Linked DNA regions of Homo sapiens: all the other regions are linked to region 1. Evidence: promoter capture Hi-C in 16 types of primary human blood cells and fetal thymus (Javierre and others, 2016). All regions are on one chromosome and are shown on one strand. The core of a region is centred on a gene start or on the middle of the fragment in contact, and the rest is flanking DNA. Distances in the headings are between cores, read along the strand shown.

Region 1 (5,044 bases), core at 2,250-4,749:
TAGCTTGCTGGTCTGAGTCCAGGGACAGAAGCTACCCTGTCGGCAGTGGGGACCAGTGAGAGTTAGCTGCCCCTTCAGTGATGCGGCCTGTTCTTGGGTTGAAATCTGAGCAGAATGGCTGGGGCAGGGCTGGTGGCCTGGAAAACAGGAGCACTAACAACCCCCTGACTCTTCCGTGCCCCTTTCCCCTTCCTGATGCGGATGACTCACCTGGAAGATCATGAGACGCACAAGGCCACAGCACGTCACAGGCATGTTCTCTGTGCTAGGTTCAAGGGACCCAGAGATGCCTCACGCAAGGACCCTGATGGTCAGCAGCTGACTCCAAGCCATAGGGCAGGGCTGGTGGTGCAGGTGTTTCCAGGCACAAGTGAATGTGCATCATGGCCGGTATGTTTTTGAAGCTTTAGAGAAGGCAGAGCGGAGGAAGTCGATCATGGGGCCAGGGGACAAGTTATTGACAGAGTAGCAAGGATCTGGCATCACAGCACAAACAAATAACCTGGGCGTGGGAGGGAGGAAGGGAGGCTGGGAAAGGATGGTCTCTATGTCATGGCAGGGCCAGGCTTTGGGGCACTGGCAGGTTGAACAAGGAAGCCCGAAGTTTGCCACTGACTTTGTGTGATCTTGAGCAGGTCCCTTAACCACTCTGGGCCTCAGTTTCCCCATTTATCAAGTGAAGGTGTTCGGTTTGATCAAAGACCTTTCAAAGTGGGGGTGGGGAGAAGCATCGACGGTGGATTCTGGGCCTCCTTTCACCCTCCCTCATCCACACTGCATGGCTTCTCCCCCACCCTGTTTTACAGATTGTGTTTCTATGTAAATAACGTGTTTTTGTTGTTGTTTTCTGTTTGTTTTGGTTTTTTTTTTTTTTTTTTTTTTTTTGATTAAAGCTACCAGTCTAAAGACCTTTAAGGTCCTTTTTGATCTAAACAGCATAGTGTAGCAGCTCTGGGACTGGGCGGTGGCAGCTCACCTGTGTGATCTGGAAGGGGCTATTGCTAACCTGGCTCTAGGATCGCTGTAGCTCTCTCTCCTTCTCTCTGGAGCAGCGGAATGGGGGTAGGAGTGGAGTTGGGACTAGGGGATGGGGAAGTGGGTGCAGATTTCTTAGAGAAACAGAGACCTAAAAGCTCCTGCCTCACATACCTGTTTGGTAAAAACTTGGGCACCATGAGGCCTTTTCAGACCCCAAAATGTGTCCTTACTTGAGGCAGCGAACCTGCCCTGGTCTGAGACTTCTTCCTGCAAGTGCTTCCACTGAGACACCAAAACCTGGCGTGTGGATTCTATGGGGCCCATTAAAACACACCTGCATGACCCATGTGGCATAAGGGCTTGTTCTGGCTCTGACACTGACTAGGTTACCAGCTTTGAGCCTCAGTTTCCTCATTCATAAAGTGGCAATAAGAGTACCCATACTTTTTGTGGGTAAAAATAAGTGAAGTGCTGGCATACGATAAAGACTTATCCAATGCTTGCTCCATCTGCCCCTAACACCTATGCCTCCTCCTTCTCAGCTTTGCTTTGTTTATTCATGACTGTGCGTGTCCACAACGTGCTCCTTCTACAGAATGCCAGGTGGGGCAGAACAGGTGCCATGATAGCAAACAAGGGAAAGAACAAAGAATTAGAAGAACGGACTTCTTCTAAATGCATGTTAGTATGAACACAGAGTCATTTATTCATATTAGATGTGCAGAGGGCCTCCTGTGTGCCACACTGAGCTCATTAGGAGGGGCTGGCCCTTCACACATGAGTGTGTGAATTTCTCTATTCCAGTCCCAGTTGAGAAGTCAATTTATTTGAGAACACATGGCCATATGACTGAAGAGAAAGTGCTCATCCACACAAGGCATGTTCTGCGGATGTCACACCCTCCTGGATTGCCCTCGGTCTGTAGGAAATGGTGGAATGCATTCTAAATGCCTAAGAGTGATCATCAGAAGAGCATGATGTGGCAGAAGGGGTGCAGGTTTTGCTTTCTAAGAACTGTGTGAATTTGAGAAAGTCACTTCTTTTTTTTTTGAGATGGAGTCTTGCTCTGTTGCCCAGGCTGGAGCTCAGTGGCACAATCTTAGCTCACTTCAATCTTCATCTTTTGGGTTCAAGTGATTCTCTTGCCTCAGTCTCCCGAGTAGATGGGATTACAGTTGTGCGCCGCCATGCTTGGCTAATTTTGGTATTTGTAATAGAGACAGGGTTTCGCCATGTTGGCCAGGCTGATCTTGAACTCTCGACCTCAGGTGATCCACCACCTCGGCTTCTCAAAGTGCTGGGATTACAGGCGTGAGCCGCTGTGCCTGGCTGGAAAGTCACTTCTTATCTTTGAGCCTAAAGACAAATTTTCTTGTGTGTAAAACCGGATCATAATATCTGCATCCTGGGTGGCTGTGGGAATAAAATGAGATCAGGCAAGGATCTGCTTCCGGGCAGGTGCTCAGGAAATGACAGCTGTTATGATTTTTGAGCATAGCAGAGGACAGAGGGTCACGTTCAACAGTTGCCAGTGTGGGTGATGCAGTCTGTCCTCAGTGGGGTCCTGCCCTCAGGAGTCACTAGCTGAGATCCTTCGCCCAATGAGAAGGGCTCGGAGTGCCCCCTGTACATCGCGATTCCAGAGGCTGTAGATGATGGGGTTCAGCATGGGGGTGACTACAGTGTACATGACAGTGGCCACACGGCCCCACTCTGCCTCGCGTCGGGATGTGGCCTGGAAGTAGACTGCAATGACTGTCCCATAGAAGAGGCTCACCACAGCCAGGTGGGAGCCACAGGTGGACACAGCCCGGAGCCTCCCAGAGGCTGAGGGCAGCTGGAGCACGGCAGCTGCGATGGCCCCATAGGAGGCGAGGATGAGCAGGAAGGGAGTGACCACCACTGCGGCGCCCTCGGTGAAGATGAGCAGCTGGATGTGGTGGGTGTCAGAGCACGAGAGCCTTAAGAGAGGCTGGTGGTCACAGAAGAAGTGGGGCACTTGGTGGGAAGCACAGAAGGACAAGCGAGCCATGAGCAGGATATACAGGAGGGAGTGGACGTGGGACACCAGCCATGCCATTCCCACCAGGGCTGCGCACATGGCCCGGGACATCCTCGTGGCATAGGGGAGGGGGTGCCGGATGGCCACGTAGCAGTCATAGGCCATGGCCGCCAGAAGACAGCTATCAGTTACCCCCAGGGCAAAGAAGAAGTACATTTGGGTCAGGCAGCCAGCCAGCGAGATGGAGTGGTCATGGGCCAACAAGTTGGCCAACATCTTGGGCACAGTGACGGAGGCGAAGCAGAGGTCAGCAAAGGACAGGTGGGCCAGCAGGAAGTACATGGGTGCATGAAGGGCTGGACTGGCCTGGATGGCAGCCACAATGAGTCCATTACCCAGGAGGCTGGCCACATACAAGAGCAAGAACAGCACAAAGAGAGGCCGCTGCTGTCCAGGACTTGTTGTCAGTCCCAATAAAACGAATGAGATTCCCTCTGAAGACTCATTGGCAGCCTCCATGGCAGGCTGGTTATTCGCCTGGAACCTGAAGGGCTCCTTTCTATTGATGGGTCACCTCCCCGATGTCTAACGGAAAAGGTGAGGGGATAAATTGTTCAAGGCTTCCTGGCCATGGGAAAATATCAAGAGTTTAGAGTCAGGTAGCCCTGGCCCTAGGCACAGGTATGACTATGGGCAAGTCATTTCACCTCCCTGAACCTTCTTCCTTTCTGGGCCTTAGATTTTCTTTTCTTTTTTTTTTTTTTTTTTTGAGATGGAGTCTTGCTCTGTCGCCCAGGCTGGAGTGCAGTGGCACGATCTCAGCTCACTGCAAGCTCCACCTCCTGGGTTCACGCCATTCTCCTGCCTCAGCCTCCCGAGTAGCTGGGACTACAGGCGCCCGCCATCACGCCCGGCTAATTTTTTTTGTATTTTTTAGTAGAGACGGGGTTTCACCGTGTTAGCCAGGATGTTCTCGATCTCCTGACCTTGTGGGGCCTTAGACTTTCAACCTGCGAAATAAGAGAATTGAAGTAACTCATCTGCAAGGTCACGTCCAACTTTGATAGTTTGTGATTTAAGCAAAAATAGAACAAAAGATATTGCACAAGATGTAGATCAGGGAAGGAGGAAAATATGAAAGAAAAGATGAAACAGAGTGAGGTTCGACACAGAAAGATCTGGCCAATGGACATTTATTTTGGAAAAGAAAAAATGAAACCAAACCAAGATGGAGGAGAGAAACATAAGAAAGAAACTCTAGAAAAAAAATCTGAAGAGCACATATGTTTACATTGAAATGAATATGAACTCACAACACCTAGACACAAATAGTGGAATTTTAGAACACTGGAAATGAAGAGGAGACTCCAGTACTTCCTAAGGGCATGGGGTGCAATGAACTGATGATATCCATGTAATTAGATTGCCATCAAATGTTTCAATTCAACAGTAGATTATAGAACAGTTTAACAATATTCAAATTCTGAAAAAAAGCATTTCGAACTTGGAATTCTTCACTCAGCAAAAATACTACTCAAGTGTGAGTAAAGAATACAGATATTTTCAGACTTAAAACACAAAACAAGGCCGGGTGCAGTGGCTCGTGCCTGTAATCCCAGCACTTTGGGAGGCCAAGGTAGGAGGATCACCTGAGGTCAGGAGTTTGAGACCAGCCTGGCCAATGTGGTGAAACCCCATCTCTACTAAAAAAAAAAATACAAAAATTAGCCAGGTGTGGTGTCACGTGCCTGTAATCCCAGCTACTTGGGAGGCTGGGGCAGGAGAATATCTTGAACCCAGGAGGCAGAGGTTGCAGTGAGCCAAGATCGTGCCACTGCACTCCAGCCTGGGTGGCACAGTGAGACTCCATCTCACACACACACAAAAAAAGAACAAGAGAATCTGAATGACTCCTCATATCCCTGAAAACTTTCCCCATGAAATCAAACACTTACTGAGCACCAAGCAGATGCACATCACAGGGTGAGAAACTCCTGTGGACAGATGGACACATCTGCCCAGGCATAGCGACTTGACTCTTAAGGAGAGAGGCAACTTGTTTTC
Region 2 (4,729 bases), core at 181-2,680, 370 kb after region 1:
TAGTTTAAGGTTAAGATTTTATTTGGGTCCTGGAACACGTTCGGTGGGTGCTGTCTCAGCTCACCTGGAAGCAGATGTCTGATGGCCTTATTTCTAGGCACAAGTCCTCATTAGTCTCCTCAGCTTTATAAAGATAATAATAATATCATTTATTGAACACTTACTATACTCTTGTTATTGTGTTACATACTTTACTTGTGTAAACATATTTAATCCCAACGACAACCCTACAAGACAGATACTGATGTTATTCACATTTTATAGATGAGAACCTGGAGACTTGGTGAAATTTTTAACTTGTTTATTACTGCACAGTTAGTTGAGTTATGGAGTTAGAATCTGAAACATCTGTCTGACTGAAAGCCCTGCACTAAATACTAGTGTGTTGTTTGATTGCCAACTCTAAATAGGATTCACCTCTACTTGATTGATAATAGACACCAGCCGCAGCTTAGGTATCAACGAGGGACTATTAGTTGGTGGTCACTGATACTCAGTGTTTACCAAAAGTTTAACTAAAAGAAAATATATTTAGGGAAGCTTGCTCAAAGGACATGCAGGTCATCCATACCTACCTGCAAGACTAAAATCCAATATGTTGTCCACCCAAACCACTGGAAATCTGAGCACCTAGACAGCATTCTTTTTGCCTCTGAGCTATTGTTTACTGTGAATTTTTACACCCCAATTTGATTGCCAAAGCCTACATTAAGACGGATTAAAAGAAACCCCATGCAATGTGTCTGTTCTTAGAACCGCAGATGATATAATTTCACCTAATCAAGTGGTTTATTTTTACTTTTGGTCCCAGTGAACTGTGTGACTGACCAGAAAGCCTGAGCCAAATCTGAGGCCCACCCATAACAACAGTCATCATAATCTGCATTTTCAGAGTCATTCCTGGCTCAATTTTATGTCTCCACCCTTGTTTATCCCCCCTTTTGTTCTTTTTCTAACCTCATTTTCCATTTATCTTATCTTGTATTTTATACGTATTTCCAAGCTTCCTTAAATTCTTCAGGAATAAGACTTGGCATAAATATAAATAAATTTGAGGAAATCTACCAAAATGTAGAAACAGTGGTTACCTCTGGATAGCAAAAGTATAGATTTTTTTAAATCTGCATCTTCATAAAGGATCTCATGCCCTGACCATAAACATTCTTTCTTTTATAAGTATGAAGACATATTTCTAATTACAGATAAACTGTAAAATTCTAATTTTTTGTTATGAATATTGGTAAAAATGTAGTCCATTAATAGAGACTGAAGGTAAAGACGGTGATATTCATCAGGAGAGAGACTATATAGTTGATTTGATGTATCAAATTGGCTGAGCCATGGTAACAAGGTGTTTGGTCAAACATTATTCTATGTGTTTCTGTGAAAGTGTTTTTTTGGCAATTCCTGACCTACTGGTTCAATGAAATCTCAATCAAAATTCTATTGGGCTCTTTTGTAAGTTGAAAATTTTAAAATAAAATTTATATGGAAATGGCAAAAAACCTAGAAGAACCTAAATAACTTTGGGGGAGGAAAGAAGACCCACACCATGCAATTCAAGACTTACTAAGCTATAATAATCAAGACAGTGTACTTTTGGTTTTAAAGCTCAATCAAACAAGAGTTCAGAAATAGATCTACAGTTATATGGTCAATTGATTTTTGACAAAAATTCCAATGCAATAGAGAAAGGACAGTTTTTCAACAACTGATGCTGGAACAATTGGATATCCATATAAAAAAATCAATCCTTAACTCACACCATATATATAAATTAATTCAAAATGGATCATGGACTTAAATGTAAGAGCTAAAACTGTAAAACTTATAGAAGAAAACAAAAGAAAAGCTTTGTAACCTTGGATTAGGCAAATAATTTTCACATAAGAAACAAAAAGCAAAAACCATAATAGAAAAAAACTGCTAAATTCAGCATCATCAAAATTTTAAACTTCTGCTGTTTGAAAGATACTGTTAAGAGAATGTAAAGACAAGCCACAGGCTGGGAGAAAATGTTTGCAAAACACATACCTAATAAAGACTTTATCTAGAAAAAAGAACTCTCACAATCAATTATAAGACAAATAGCTCAAATAGTGGGCAAAGGATCTGAACAGACACTTAATCAAAGAAGATATACAGATGGCAAATAAGCACATGAAAAGATGCTTGACACCACTGGTCATTAGGGAAATGCAAATCAAAACCACAATGAAATACCACTACACATCACTAAAATGGCTAATACCAAGCTCTGGTGAGAGAAGCACCTGGAAATTGTATCCATTGCAAAATGGAGCAGCCCTTTTTGAAAACAGTTTAGCAGTTTCTTTAAAAGTTTAACACATACCTACCATACAACCCAGCAATCCTATCCCTAGGTATTTACCCAAAAGACAAGGAACCATATGTTCACACAAAGAACTGTATGCCAATGTTTAGAGCAGCTTTATTCACAGTAGCCAAACAGTGGAGACAGTCCACCAATGATGAATGGATAACCAAATTGTGGTACATCCATATGCAGCAATAAAAATGAACGAATTACTTATATGTGCAACAACTTGGAAGAATCTCAAAAAAAGTATGCAAAATCAAAGAAGCTGGACCAAAAAAAGGCTACATCTTATATCATTCTAATTGTATGACATTCAGGAAAAGGAAGCAGGAAATCAGATCACCGTTTGCCTGGGGCTAGGAGTGGCAGAAGGATAGTGACTACCAATGGGTAGGAGAGAACTTTTGTGGCAATAAGAATATTGTGTATCTTCATTGTAGTTGTTACATAACGGCATACTGTTGTCAAAACTCATCAAATGGAATACTTCCTATGAATAAATGCTATTGTTCATAAATTATGCTTTAGAAAACTTAATTTTAGAAAAAACACTTTGTAGAAAATAAAAGTTATATTTTAGAACTTAGGCTATGGAAAGATTTTCTAAATAAGATCAAAATGTAGCAAAAACAAAATATTGATAAAGTTGGCTCACATTAAAGCCAAAATCTTTGCAATAATCTGACTACAAGACTATGTGAACTGGTCCTGTGGCCATTCTGACCTCAGCTCCTGCCCCTCTTTATTCATTCAGCCCAGTCCAGCCATACTGGTCTGTTATTCCTTAAATACATCAGGTGCACTACTACCTCAGTGCTCTCACCAATCTCATTCTATAATGTTATGCCTCCTTCAACACAGAGGATATCACTGAGGTTGACTATGGCCATGCAAGACCCATCTCCCCCAACTTGGTCCCTCAATTCTAGGTGTCATTCCCAATCAGACCCAGGTAGGTCCTACTTTTTGGACTTGGAAGGGGGGCAGACGAGCCTGAGAGAGAAGTGCCTGTTTCTCCAGTATTCTGAATTGGTGACAGCCAAAGGCCGTGTTTCCAATGAAGATACTGATCCATGGAGAGACTACGCTTAATTTTTAATTACTGCTCCCTTAGAAGAAGACAAACTTTTAACCACATATGCCACTTAATTAAACCACAGAGATCTTCTCTGCATGGCTAATTACTATTGAAGCAGATGAGCCAGGAGATTCTCAAATGAAGTTTCTCTGGGGCCTCGTTAACAAGAATGGAGCACACCCCACAGAGGCAGCTACATGCGCACTGAAACTTTTCTGATATTTTACACTCAAAGCCTCCTAGCTTCCTCAAGAGGTTCTGATCACCAACCAATACCATTATCAAAAGCATCTTCCCAGCTGGACCCTGCCTAACTCCCTAGCCTCATTTCTCTTCATGATCTATCATTCTCTCTATTCCCAGAAATAACAAATAGGTTTCATCTCTTACCCTGCCACTATTTAACTAAGAGTAGCTGCCTGGAGTGCTAAGTTGAGAATGATTCAAAGGTTCAAATCAATCCCCATGAGAAATAATGCTCTGTGATAGATTAACAATGTCTGCCATGAATGTGGAATGGGGAGATTGTAGTGTGAAAGCTATATATTCTCCATCTCTGCCCTATACCAAATCCTGAACCATGCTGCATTCCCAGACCACTTAACACTTCTTCACACCTCTATGTTTTTGTAGGTTATTGCAATATCATTCCTTCTCTTCACTCAGTCAATGCCTAGTTGGCTATCCTTCAAGGCCTAACTTCCCTATAGCTTTCTCTGAGCATCCTTCCTTATCCTTGGGTTCAAGTGGGATTAATAATTTTCTCCATTGTACTTTTAACATCAGATTATTGTTGCAATTATTGCACTTATCTAAGTTATTGGGGTGCTGTGCAAGAATAACTTCTAGAGAGAAGTTCTTGGTGAATGCTATGAGAAGACACAAGAGACTGGTAACGACTCTCTGGTGGGAAAAGGAAAACAAAAAGAATAGAGGTATTTATAGCAAGAAATAGACAAAAGATAGAACCTCTAAGGATAGAGAATGAGAGGCCCTCCTCCTTAAAGTTACTGTGACGGTTAGCTACATAATAGTCCACGATATTGAAAGCAGAGTGGGGAATTGATGAAGAAAGCATAACCTGGGTGAATCATATATCATCAGAAGTCCTATACTAAAAAAAACTACTAAAGAAAGAAAGAAAATGATCACAGGTGAAAGTACAAAATGCAAGCAGTGCAGTGCAATGGAAAGAAAAATAATGTGAATAATCTAAAAGAATATTGCTTACTAAAAGCAATAGTAAGGATGTCTTGTGAGGTTTAAAATGTGTGTTGTATTAAAATGCATCAAAACTCTAACTCAAAAGG
Region 3 (5,228 bases), core at 2,729-5,228, 400 kb after region 1:
TCCTGTAGGTGTATAGATCTATTTCTGGGTTCAGTAGTCTGTTTCATTAGTCTATGTGTCTGTTTTTATGCCAGTATAATGCTATTTTGGTTACTATATCTCTGTAGTATAATTTTAAGTCAGGTAATGCGATTCCTCCAGTTTTGTTCTTTTTGCTTAGGATAGCTTTGGCTATTCTGGGTCTTTCGTGGTTCTCTATAAATTCTAGGATTGTTTTTTCTGTTTATATGGAGAATGTCATTGGTATTTTGATAAGGATTGTATTGAATCTATAGACTGCTTTGGGTTGTATGGACATTTTAACAATGTTGATTCTTCCAATCTATGAATATGGAATATTTTTCTGTTTTTCGTGTGTCCTCTCCAATTTCTTTCATAGTGTTTTATTTTCCATTGTCAAGATCTTTCACTTCTTTGATTAATTTCCAGGTACTTAATTTTATTTGTAGCTATCGTAAATGGGATTACTATTTTCAGAATTTTCACTGTTTTCACATAGAAATGTTACTAATTCTTTCTTCTCTTTGATCAATTCTGCTATTAAGAGACTCTGATGCATTCTTTAGTAGTCAGTTGCATTTTTCAGCTTCAGAATTTCGGCTTGATTCTTTTTAATTATTTCAATATCTTGGTTAAATTGATCTGATAGGATTCTGAATTCCTTCTCTGTATTATCTTGTATTTCACTGAGTTTCCTCAAAATAGCTATTTCAAATTCTCTGTCTGAAAAGCCTAGAGGTGTAGATATATGACCTCTCTCTGAGAGATAGAGAAAGATCACATATTTCTATCTCTCTAGGATAAATCCCTGATGACTTATTTAGTTTGTTTAGTAAGGTCATGTTTTCTTGAGTGGTATTGATGCTTGTGGATGTTCACTGGTGTCTGGACATTGAAAAGTTAGATATTTGTGGTAGTCTTTGCAGTCTGGGCTTCTTGGGAAAGCCTTCTTGGGAAGGCTTTCCAGGTATTCGAAGGGACTTGGGTGTTGTCATCTAAGTTTTTGGTCACCATAGTCATATCAGCATTAGGAGGCACCCCAAGCCCAGTAATGCTGTGGCTCTTGCAGACTTGTAGAGGTACCACTTGATGGTCTTGGATAAGATCTGGAAGAATTGTCTGGATTACCAGGCAGATATTCTTGTTCTCTTCCCTTACTTTCTCCCAAACAGACAGAGTCTCTCTGTCTCTGTGCTGAGCTGCCTACAACTGGGGGAGGGGTGGCACAAGCACCCCTGTGGCCACCACCACTGGGACTGCACTAGGTCAGACCTGAAGCCAGCACAGCACTGTTTCTTACCCAAGGCCCATTATAACCACTACCTGGCTACCACCACCTTTGTTTACTCAAGGCTTTAGGGCTTTGCAGTTAGCAGGCAGTAAGTCAGCCAAGCTTGTGTCCTTCCCTTCAGGGCAGCGAGTTCCCCCAAGCAGGTCCGTAGATGCTGTTTGGGGACCAGAGCCTGGAGTTGAAAATCTTAAGAATCTGCCTTGTGTTCTATTCTACTGCAGCTGAGCTGCAGACAAAGCTACAAGTCAAGTCTTTCCCACTCATCCCTCCCCTTCCCACAGGCAGAGGAGTCTCTCCCCATGGCCAGCACCACCACAGGCCCATGGGGAGTACTGCCTGGCTACCACCAATGTTCACACAAGGCCAAGAGCTCTTCAGGAAGCTTGTGGTGAATGCTGCCAGACCTAGGACTCACGTATCAGGGCAGTGGTCTCCCCTCTGGCCCAGGTCAGGTCCAGAAATGCTGTGCGAGAGCCAAGGCCTGGAATCAGGGATACTGAGAGCCCACTTGGTGCTCTGCCCCACTGTGGCCGAGCTAGTACCTAAGCTGCAAGATGAAATCCCCTTTACTTTTCCCCCTGCTTTTCTCAAGTAGAAGGAGTCTCTCCCCATAGCCACCACAGCTGGGAATGTGCTGGGTCACACCTGAAGTCAGCACATCTCAGAATCTCACTCAAGGGCCATAGTGTGTACTACCTGGCTACTGCTGCTGATTATTCAGGGCCCAAGGGCACTTTAGTCAGCAGGTGGTGAATACTATCAGGACTAGATCCTTTCATTCAAGGCAACAGGTTCCCTTCTGCCTTATATGGCCCATATAAGCCCAGGATATGTCTAGAAATGTCATCTGGAAGTTAGGTCCTGGAATGGGTGCCTCAGGACTCTGCCCGGTGCCCTAAACTACTGTGGCTGAGCTGGTATCCAAGTGGCAAGACAAGTCCTCTTTACTCTTCTCTCCTCAAGCTGAAGGAAGGAGTCTCTTTGAGAGCTGTGAGTTGCACTGCCTAGGGTTGGGAGAGGGGTGGCACAAGCACTCCCTTGGCTATCGCAGCAGGTCACATGCCCCTCAAGTCCACTGGCTCCAAGCGCAGATCAGACTTTCCTAGGAGTTGTAATCCTTGTGGCCTATACTGCCTTTCAAGTTTATTTAGAACCCCAGAGCCCTTTAGCCCATTCAGCAACTGGGATGGATGCTTCCCCTCTGGCTAGGGCTGATCTAAATTCTCCCTCATGGGTATTAGCTGAGTTCTGCCTGGTGTTGCTTTCCAGTGTAACAAGGCAACACTGAGTTCTAACACAAAGTCCTACAACCACTACACTCTCCCTACACAGATTCTCTGTGCCATGTGGCTGCTGCCAGGGATCGGGGAGGGATGGCTCTGGCAATTCAAGACCATCCTTCCTACCCTCCTCAGTGCCTCTTTCAGTAATATAAAGTTAAAACCAGGTACTACAATCATTCACTTGAATTTTGGTTCTAATGAAGGTGCATTTTTTGTGTAGACAGTTGTTAAATTTGGTGTTCCTGTGGGGAAGACAATTGGTAGAAGCTTCTATTCTGCCTTCTTGCTCTGCCTCCTGCGTTTCTGACACTTTTTTTAACTCAAAAATTACTAAAAGAGTGGACTGTGTGTACCCAACAGTCTTTGTTTCTCTGTTGTTCTATAATTACATAACTTCACTTCTTAAGCTCTTTGCTTGCAACTATATCGAGCTGCTACCAGGTCAACAGTAAGGCCATTGTGATGGTCTTTGTAACATTCTAGGGATAGGGCCCACAGAGGCAGAACAGAACTAAGAAAATTCAGATTCACTGAAGCAGACTTTCCACGTTTCCCAGCCCCTTTGAACACCTTCCCTATGTATGAGGAATTTTCCTTATCATGGGTTCCTCCTTTTCAAGGCACAAACCAGAAAACTCACTTTCCATTCTTTCTTGTAGCTGCAGTACAGACACATGAGCTGGGCTCCACCAATCCGACACAAAATAAAGATAATTTTAATTCTAAGTAGAGAAAAGAGAGGAAGCAAGTATCACACAGATTCCATTTTCCAGCAAAAGTGGCTGTAGAAGCAGCCTGTTTTGGAAGGCAGCAGTAGTGGGGTTTGGGCAGCAAAGGTGTCATTTGAGATGCTGTGTCCATGGCAGTAGTAGAGGCATCTCCACTGGACAGTGGCCACCATTCCTAGGTGCAAACCCTCCAAGCCTAATTCCCTGGTCCTCCCAGTGGCTCCATGAGCTATGTAATGTCCTATAATAAATTCCTTCCTGCTTATACAGGCTAGAGAATGTTCTGTTGTTTGCATTGAGAGTCCTGAATGAATCACCCATTGTATTAGTCGGGGTTCTCCAGAGAATTAGAACCAACAGAATATATGTATATTATTATTATTATTATTATTATTATTATTATTTGATTTCCAATAATCAAATAATACAGTGGTTTGTGTATTATTTGATTATTGGAACTTGAATAATAATATACATATATTGGTTACACGTGTAGGATGTGCAGGTTTGTTACACAGGTAAACGTGTGCCATGGTAGTTTGCTGCACAGATCATCCCATCAGCTAGGTATTAACATTAGCTATTCTTCCTGATGGCCCACCTCCCACCCTCCGACAGGCCTCAGCATGTGTTGTTCCCCACCATATGTCCACGTATTCTCATCATTCATCTCCCACGCATAAGTGAGAACATGCAGTATTTGGTTTTCTGTTCTTGTATTATTAGAGAGATAGAAATATATATATATATATATATTCAGTCTTGAATATATAGAGAGAGAGTCAGTCTTGAATATATATATATAGTCAGTCTTGAATATATATATAGTCAGTCTTGAATATATATAGTCAGCCTTGAATATATATATAGTCAGTCTTGAATATATATATATAGTCTTGTATATGTATATATATATTCAGTCTTGTATATATATATATATATTCAGTCCTGTGTATATATATATATATATTCAGTCCTGTGTGTATATATATATATATATATATATATATTCAGTCGTGTGTGTGTATATATATATATATATATTCAGTTCTGTGTGTATATATATGTATAATATATATATTCAGTCCTGAATATATGTGCACATATCCTCCATATCCATGGGTTCCATATCTGTGAATTCAACCAAATGCAGATCAAAATATTCAAATACAATAAAAATAATACAAAGAAAAAATACAGTATAACAACTAGCATTTACACTGTATTAGGTATTATAAGTAATCTAGAGATGATTGAAGTTATACAGGAGATTGCACATAGGTTATATGCAAATACTATACCACTTCATATAAAGGACTTGAGGAACCACAGATTTTGGTATCTGTAGAGATCCTGAAACAAATCCCCCACAAATACCAAAGGATGGCTGTATATAGCTTTATTTTTAGAAATTAATTCACACAATTGTTGGGGTTGGCAAACTTCAAATCCATAGGGCAGACTAGCAGGCTGGAAACTCAGGCAGGAGTCGATGGCTATAGTCTTGAGGCAAAGTTTCTTCTTTTCCAGGAAACTGCAGTGTTTGTTCTTGAGGCCTTTCAACTAATCAGGTGCAGCTCACCCAAATTATTTAAGTAATCTCTTTCACTTAAAGTCAACTGATTGTAGATGTTAATCACATCTACAAAATACCTTCACAGCCACACCTAGATTACTGTTTGATTAAATAACTGTGTGCTATAGCCCAACCAAACTGACAAATAAAACCAACCATCACATCCACCAAATCAAAACTCCAGGAACAAATGTTTAAATTACAAGCATTAAGATTCTTCACTCTGAAGAAGCTTTCTTGGTGCATTTAGCCTGTTTCCCTTTGCAAAACTTTCATGTGCAGTTGTCAATACTAAGCAAAGTCTACCTAATCTAGGCACTTGCATTTAAGAGAGGAATACCTCTGGAACC
Region 4 (5,253 bases), core at 478-2,977, 280 kb after region 1:
ATAAAAGATGACTTGGGCATATAATACAAACTAGGGGCCATTAAGCTGAGTAGAAATGCTTTTCAATAAGAAAGACAACGAAGACACTGAATGGGAAAAGGATCAAATTTAGTGACGGCAACAGAAGGCTCCTGACTGTGAAGACTTTTTTGTTCTTCTCATTCATTACCTGGAGTAAGTCTGCGGCGTGATTGAAGCTCACATGTGTAGTCAGAAAGCTTCATAAACATTGGTCTGAAAGTGAACTGTTGAATGAAAGTTATTGTAGTCTAGAAGAGGAACCTCAAGTTCTGAAGTGGAACAGCTGAACTTATGACAGTGAATAGCTTTTTGGATCTGTAAAGGGTACTATATAGTTTCTTCTCCTTACCCACCACCATCAGCAACAACAATAAAAAATGTGAGAAGAGAACTGAATGGGAAGAAAGAAAGGGAAATGCCTTTACAAGTACCCAATCCTTCAACTTTTCTATGGCAAGGGAATCCTGTTAGTCAACATATTTAAACAATTCCTAAGAACAAATAAATTTCCAGGAAATAAAATGAAGGATTTAAGTTCTGTTAACTATGTAATTTCTGAATCTAATAGGCAAGATAAATAAACAATTATGTAAACTCAGAATTCACAATTTGCACTAAAGAGGAAAAGGGAGAATAACTGTAACAGGATGCAATTCAAGTCATCAGAGAGTTACTGAGCACTTATCCCTTGCTGGGATCAGAAGTAAGGATCTATGATCTGGAAATAGGTCAGTACATATGTCTGTTATAAAGAAGAGTAAATGTCATTGAGATAAGACTGTTGCCCTGTTGAAGAGTCTCTCCAGGGCTCCCTTTATGTCCCTGTTCCTTAGGCTATAAATGAAGGGATTCAGCAATGGGGTGATCACCGTGTACATCACAGAGGCAATTACGTCCTTGTCACTGGAGGCACTGGATGAGGGGAGAAAATACAGTCCAATAATTGTGCCATAATACAGAGACACCACAGAGAGGTGAGAGCCACAGGTGGACAAAGCTTTGAAGATGCCCTTAGTAGATGGAGCCTTGAGGATGGTGACCCCAATGTGGCCATAAGAGATCAAGATGCATATTAGTGGTAGAGTAATGACTGCCTGTCCCACTGTGAAAATGACCAGCTCATTGAGGGAGATGTCTGAGCATGAGAGCTTGAGTAGGGCAACAAGATCACAGAAGAAATGGGGGATGGTGTTGTCAGCACAAAAGGACAGCTGGGCCAGGAGGAGAGTGTGAGACAGGGCATTGGTACAGGAGAGGATCCAGGACACAGTGACTAGTAAGTTACACAGTCCCTCTTTCATGATAGTGGTGTAGCGGAGGGGGTGACAGATGGCCACATACCGATCGTATGCCATTGAAGTGAGAAGGAAATTGTCTAGATCAGTGAAAAATATGAAAAAATACATCTGAGTTACACACCCTGCATAAAGAATGGATTGATCCTGAGTTTGCATGCTTAATAACATCTTTGGGACAGTGACAGATGAAAGGGAGATGTCAGTGAGAGCCAAGTGGCTGAGGAAGAAGAACATGGGGGTGTGAAGGTGAGAGTCCAGCCGGATGAGCAGGATGATGAGCAGGTTCCCCAGCACCGTGATCAGGTACATGCCCAAGAACAGGGTGAAGAACACAGCCTGCTGCTCTGGCCAGATGGGGAGGTCCAGGAGGAGGAACTCAGACACACTGCTCTGATTCTCCCTCTTCATGCTGACAGTCTTCTCTCTGCTGGAAATAGAGGGACATTGAAAAAGGCAGAAACAAACAAATGTTGATTTACAGCAGCAGATAAGAATAAGATCCTTGCTACTGATGAATATGCCAATGTCTGTCTACATTGCTATGTCCCTACAAAAAATCATTTCAAGTAGATGGTTTTATCACTCAAAATGGGATAATTCGCCAAGAGAGTAGAGGGTTTGAAATAGAAGAGAAGACCAGCCATGTCTAGTCAGTAAAGAGAAAGCTTCACACCGTATTAGCAGATGGATCGTAAGATAACGTCTTTCCAATTTCCATTGTTTATGTACTTTTAAAAACAATCATCAGGCTAGTCATGAGCCTTCATGTTGTAACATATTGAACTTTTTAAAATTTGACTTCAAAATCTATTAGTAAGCAACATATAGGGATGAAGTTTCCATAACACATATCCAAAAGAAATTGGATCAAAGATAAACAGCCAAAGTTTTCATTATGTATAAAGTTGATGAGAAAAAAAACTTGTCTATTGATTACAATATCACTGCCATAAAAAAAGTAAATCTTACACAAAATATTTAAAGGTGAGAGCTTCAGGAGGTAATTAGGTCATGAGGGTAGAACCCCATGAATGGGATTATTGCCCTTATAAGAAGAAACACAAGAGTGTCTCTGGCATTGCCATGTGAGGACTCAGCAGGAAGGCAGCCATCTGCTAACCAGAAAGTGGACCCGCACCAGAAACCAAATCTGCTGGTACCTTGATCTGGGGCTTCCCAGGCTCCAGAACTGTAACAAATAAATGTCTGCTGTTTAAAGTCACCCAGCTATAGCAGCCCAACCGACTAAGACACTCAGTAAACTAAATAATACAGTAAACACCATACCTAGTGGAGACATTTTAAAGCATTTCCATTAAAATCAGGAATGAGAAAAATATGCCAGCTTCCTCCACAGCCACTATCTACCCATTAAAATATTCTAAAGCCATGGCATATATGTGCCACATTTTCTTTATCCAGTCTATCATTGATGGACATTTGAGTTGATTCCATGTCTTTGCTATTGGGAATAGTGCTGCAATGAACATACATAAAAAGGAATGAGACCATGTCCTATGCAGGGACATGGATGGAGCTGGAAGCCATTATCCTCAGCAAACTAATGCAGGAACAGAAAACCAAACAACACATGTTCTCACTTATAAGTGAGAGCTGAACAATGAGAACACAGGGAGGAGAACAATACACACTGGGACCTGTCTAGGGAGCTTGAGGGGGTGAGAGCATCAGGAAAAAGAGCTAACGAATGCCAGGCTTAATACCTAGGTGATGGGGTTGATAGGTGCAGCAAACCACCATGGCACACGTTTACCTGTGTAACGAACCTGCACATCCTGCACATGTACCCTGGAACATAAGAAAAAAAAAACACCTCAAAAAGATATTCTAAACCTAAGTTACCAAATCCTGCAAGGCCAGTAGGAATGAGTTTATAGTGCCACTGTGTCTTAATTGAAAAGTTCCCTTTAAGTCAAAAAGCAATGCCAAATGCCTAATATATATACCAACGTATACTAAGTAAATAGAAAATGTGAGGATTTCATTATAACAGTTCTTAATTGGGAGAAAAATTCAGAAGAGCTTTGTACAGGTTAAGGATAGGCTTAAAATTCTTTGCTTCTTTAAGCTGGTGAGTTGAGCATACTCCTATTTCATATGAGAATACCATCCTTCCTTTGAAACTTACCAAAAGGCAGCCAACATAACAGAGTTCCGAATGGACCCATAGAGAAAAGGGGCAAGAATGCCTGGCCCAGGTTCCCCGGCTGCACCTGCTCACTCCAGCATTTTAAGGCTCCCTGGGGCTGTGACCTTAAGGATAGAGCCTAGTGTCTGAGGGTAGTATGTTGTACTGACAAAAGCATTGCAATTAGCCCTAGATTCAAGTCCTGGCAACATCACTTCATATCTTCATATTTGTGAGTTCTGGAGAAGTGATCCAGTTGGCCTGAGCTTCAGTTTTCTCATCTCTAATCTGGAGATGAGACTATGAGCCTAAGTCATGAGAATATTGTGAATATTAATAAGAAAACATTTGTGAAGAATGACTGCATACAATCTGAACCAATTTATATCAGTTTCTCACCTGCCATTTCCTGAGTCTCCTTTATTTCTCCCTCCTGATTGCCCACTCCTTTCAACAGGCAGATACTGGCAGAGTTCAGGTGCCACAAGGCCACTTCATCATGAGATCGTGACCTGATGCAGGCAAAGGCCAGAAACAGCAATAATGAAGTTGGGCAGAAAGGCAGCATCCAACCACACCCTAGAGAATGATGGCTCAGATATCTCACTATTCTGGACTTCTCCCCCTCCTTCTCCATTCTCTTCTGGTTTCTCTCATGCTATATCAATTAGATGACTCCTTCCTGAACTTGTAAATCTATTTAATCCATGGGATTTAGGATTTTGATAAAGCCCCCTGAATCCAATTCAGCCATGCCTATTTCTATCTGCATAAATTCTATGTAAAGACCATGTATGGGCCGGGCGCGGTGGCTCACGCCTGTAATCCCAGCACTTTGGGAGGCCGAGGCGGGCGGATCACGAGGTCAGGAAATCGAGACCATCCCGGCTAAAACGGTGAAACCCCGTCTCTACTAAAAATACAAAAAATTAGCCGGGCGTAGTGGCGGGCGCCTGTAGTCCCAGCTACTTGGGAGGCTGAGGCAGGAGAAGGGCGTGAACCCGGGAGGCGGAGCTTGCAGTGAGCCGAGATCCCGCCACTGCACTCCAGCCTGGGCGACAGAGCGAGACTCCGTCTCAAAAAAAAAAAAAAAAAAAAAGACCATGTATGGACTCCACCCCACCACATTCAGCCTCTTGATCACTAAAACCTCAACTACTGCTTGCTGATAACTGATATTTCCTTTACAGTGAGGTTGTGTATTATAGTAGAAGACAAAGCACAGGTTTTGAAGTCAGACAGAAGGGATTCAAATCAAAGTTGTATGTCTTTGGGCAAGGTAGTGCACATCTTAGGAGCCTCAGCTTTTCCTCTCTAGAATTGTGAACATAATCCCTGAATTACAGTAAAAATTAAATAAGGTAAGGTCTATAAAAACACCTCATCCATAGAAGGTGTCGTATATGAGATGACATTGTTTCCATTAAAATAAAGTGCAAAGACCTCTAGGGAACAAACTCAGTGTCTTATATTCAGTGCAAACCAGGCAAAAATTACTGGGGTAGTAGATGTTGCCTGGGCTCAAAGTTTGCTGCCTCTGATGAAGGTTTAAGAATACACTACAGATTACAGGCAGGAAATTATCAAGCAGATTGTAATAAGAAGATGCAGTATGGATGCTACACAAAAGAAGAAAGGACCCAAAGCTCTCTAGCTAAACATGTCCTTCAAATATACTTTCAGAAAGTAGCTGTGCTGTCTAAAGGGAAGGAAATGATCAGGGACTTTGGAAAGAAATATTAGAGAGGGCTCTCTAACACTGTATGCAGTAAATAAGCCCACATT

What was found. Contacts are between HindIII fragments. The CHiCAGO score rates a contact against its expected background, and 5 or more counts as called.
Region 2: a fragment that was not itself captured here is called in contact with the fragment with the promoter of OR1K1 in region 1 in 11 of 17 cell types (total CD8 T cells, M2 macrophages, naive B cells and 8 more); the score reaches 8.0 in total CD8 T cells.
Region 3: a fragment that was not itself captured here is called in contact with the fragment with the promoter of OR1K1 in region 1 in 2 of 17 cell types (naive CD8 T cells and naive CD4 T cells); the score reaches 5.4 in naive CD8 T cells.
Region 4: a contact is called between the fragment with the promoter of OR1J4 here and the fragment with the promoter of OR1K1 in region 1, in 5 of 17 cell types (M1 macrophages, M0 macrophages, endothelial precursors and 2 more). The highest score is 8.8, in M1 macrophages.

What each region holds. Positions count from the first base shown.
Region 1 is chr9:122,798,578-122,803,621 of GRCh38, reverse strand. It overlaps OR1K1 (olfactory receptor family 1 subfamily K member 1), which reads right to left and starts at 3,499. Exons shown (of 1, transcript NM_080859.1): 1 at 2,549-3,499. The coding sequence starts at 3,499. The coding sequence ends at 2,549. RefSeq lists an enhancer at 1-691. The HindIII fragment of the contact is 11,918 bases long and covers 407-5,044 here.
Region 2 is chr9:122,423,045-122,427,773 of GRCh38, reverse strand. No RefSeq gene overlaps it. Among named protein-coding and RNA genes, the nearest start is that of OR1J1, 53 kb to the left of the region's middle. The HindIII fragment of the contact is 849 bases long and covers 1,006-1,854 here.
Region 3 is chr9:122,395,162-122,400,389 of GRCh38, reverse strand. PTGS1 (prostaglandin-endoperoxide synthase 1) reads right to left here. Exons shown (of 11, transcript NM_000962.4): 11 at 4,687-5,228. Among named protein-coding and RNA genes, the nearest start is that of PTGS1, 27 kb to the right of the region's middle. The HindIII fragment of the contact is 2,269 bases long and covers 2,844-5,112 here.
Region 4 is chr9:122,515,615-122,520,867 of GRCh38, reverse strand. It overlaps OR1J4 (olfactory receptor family 1 subfamily J member 4), which reads right to left and starts at 1,727. Exons shown (of 1, transcript NM_001004452.1): 1 at 786-1,727. The coding sequence starts at 1,727. The coding sequence ends at 786. It also overlaps a transcript of OR1J2 not described here. The HindIII fragment of the contact is 966 bases long and covers 1,021-1,986 here.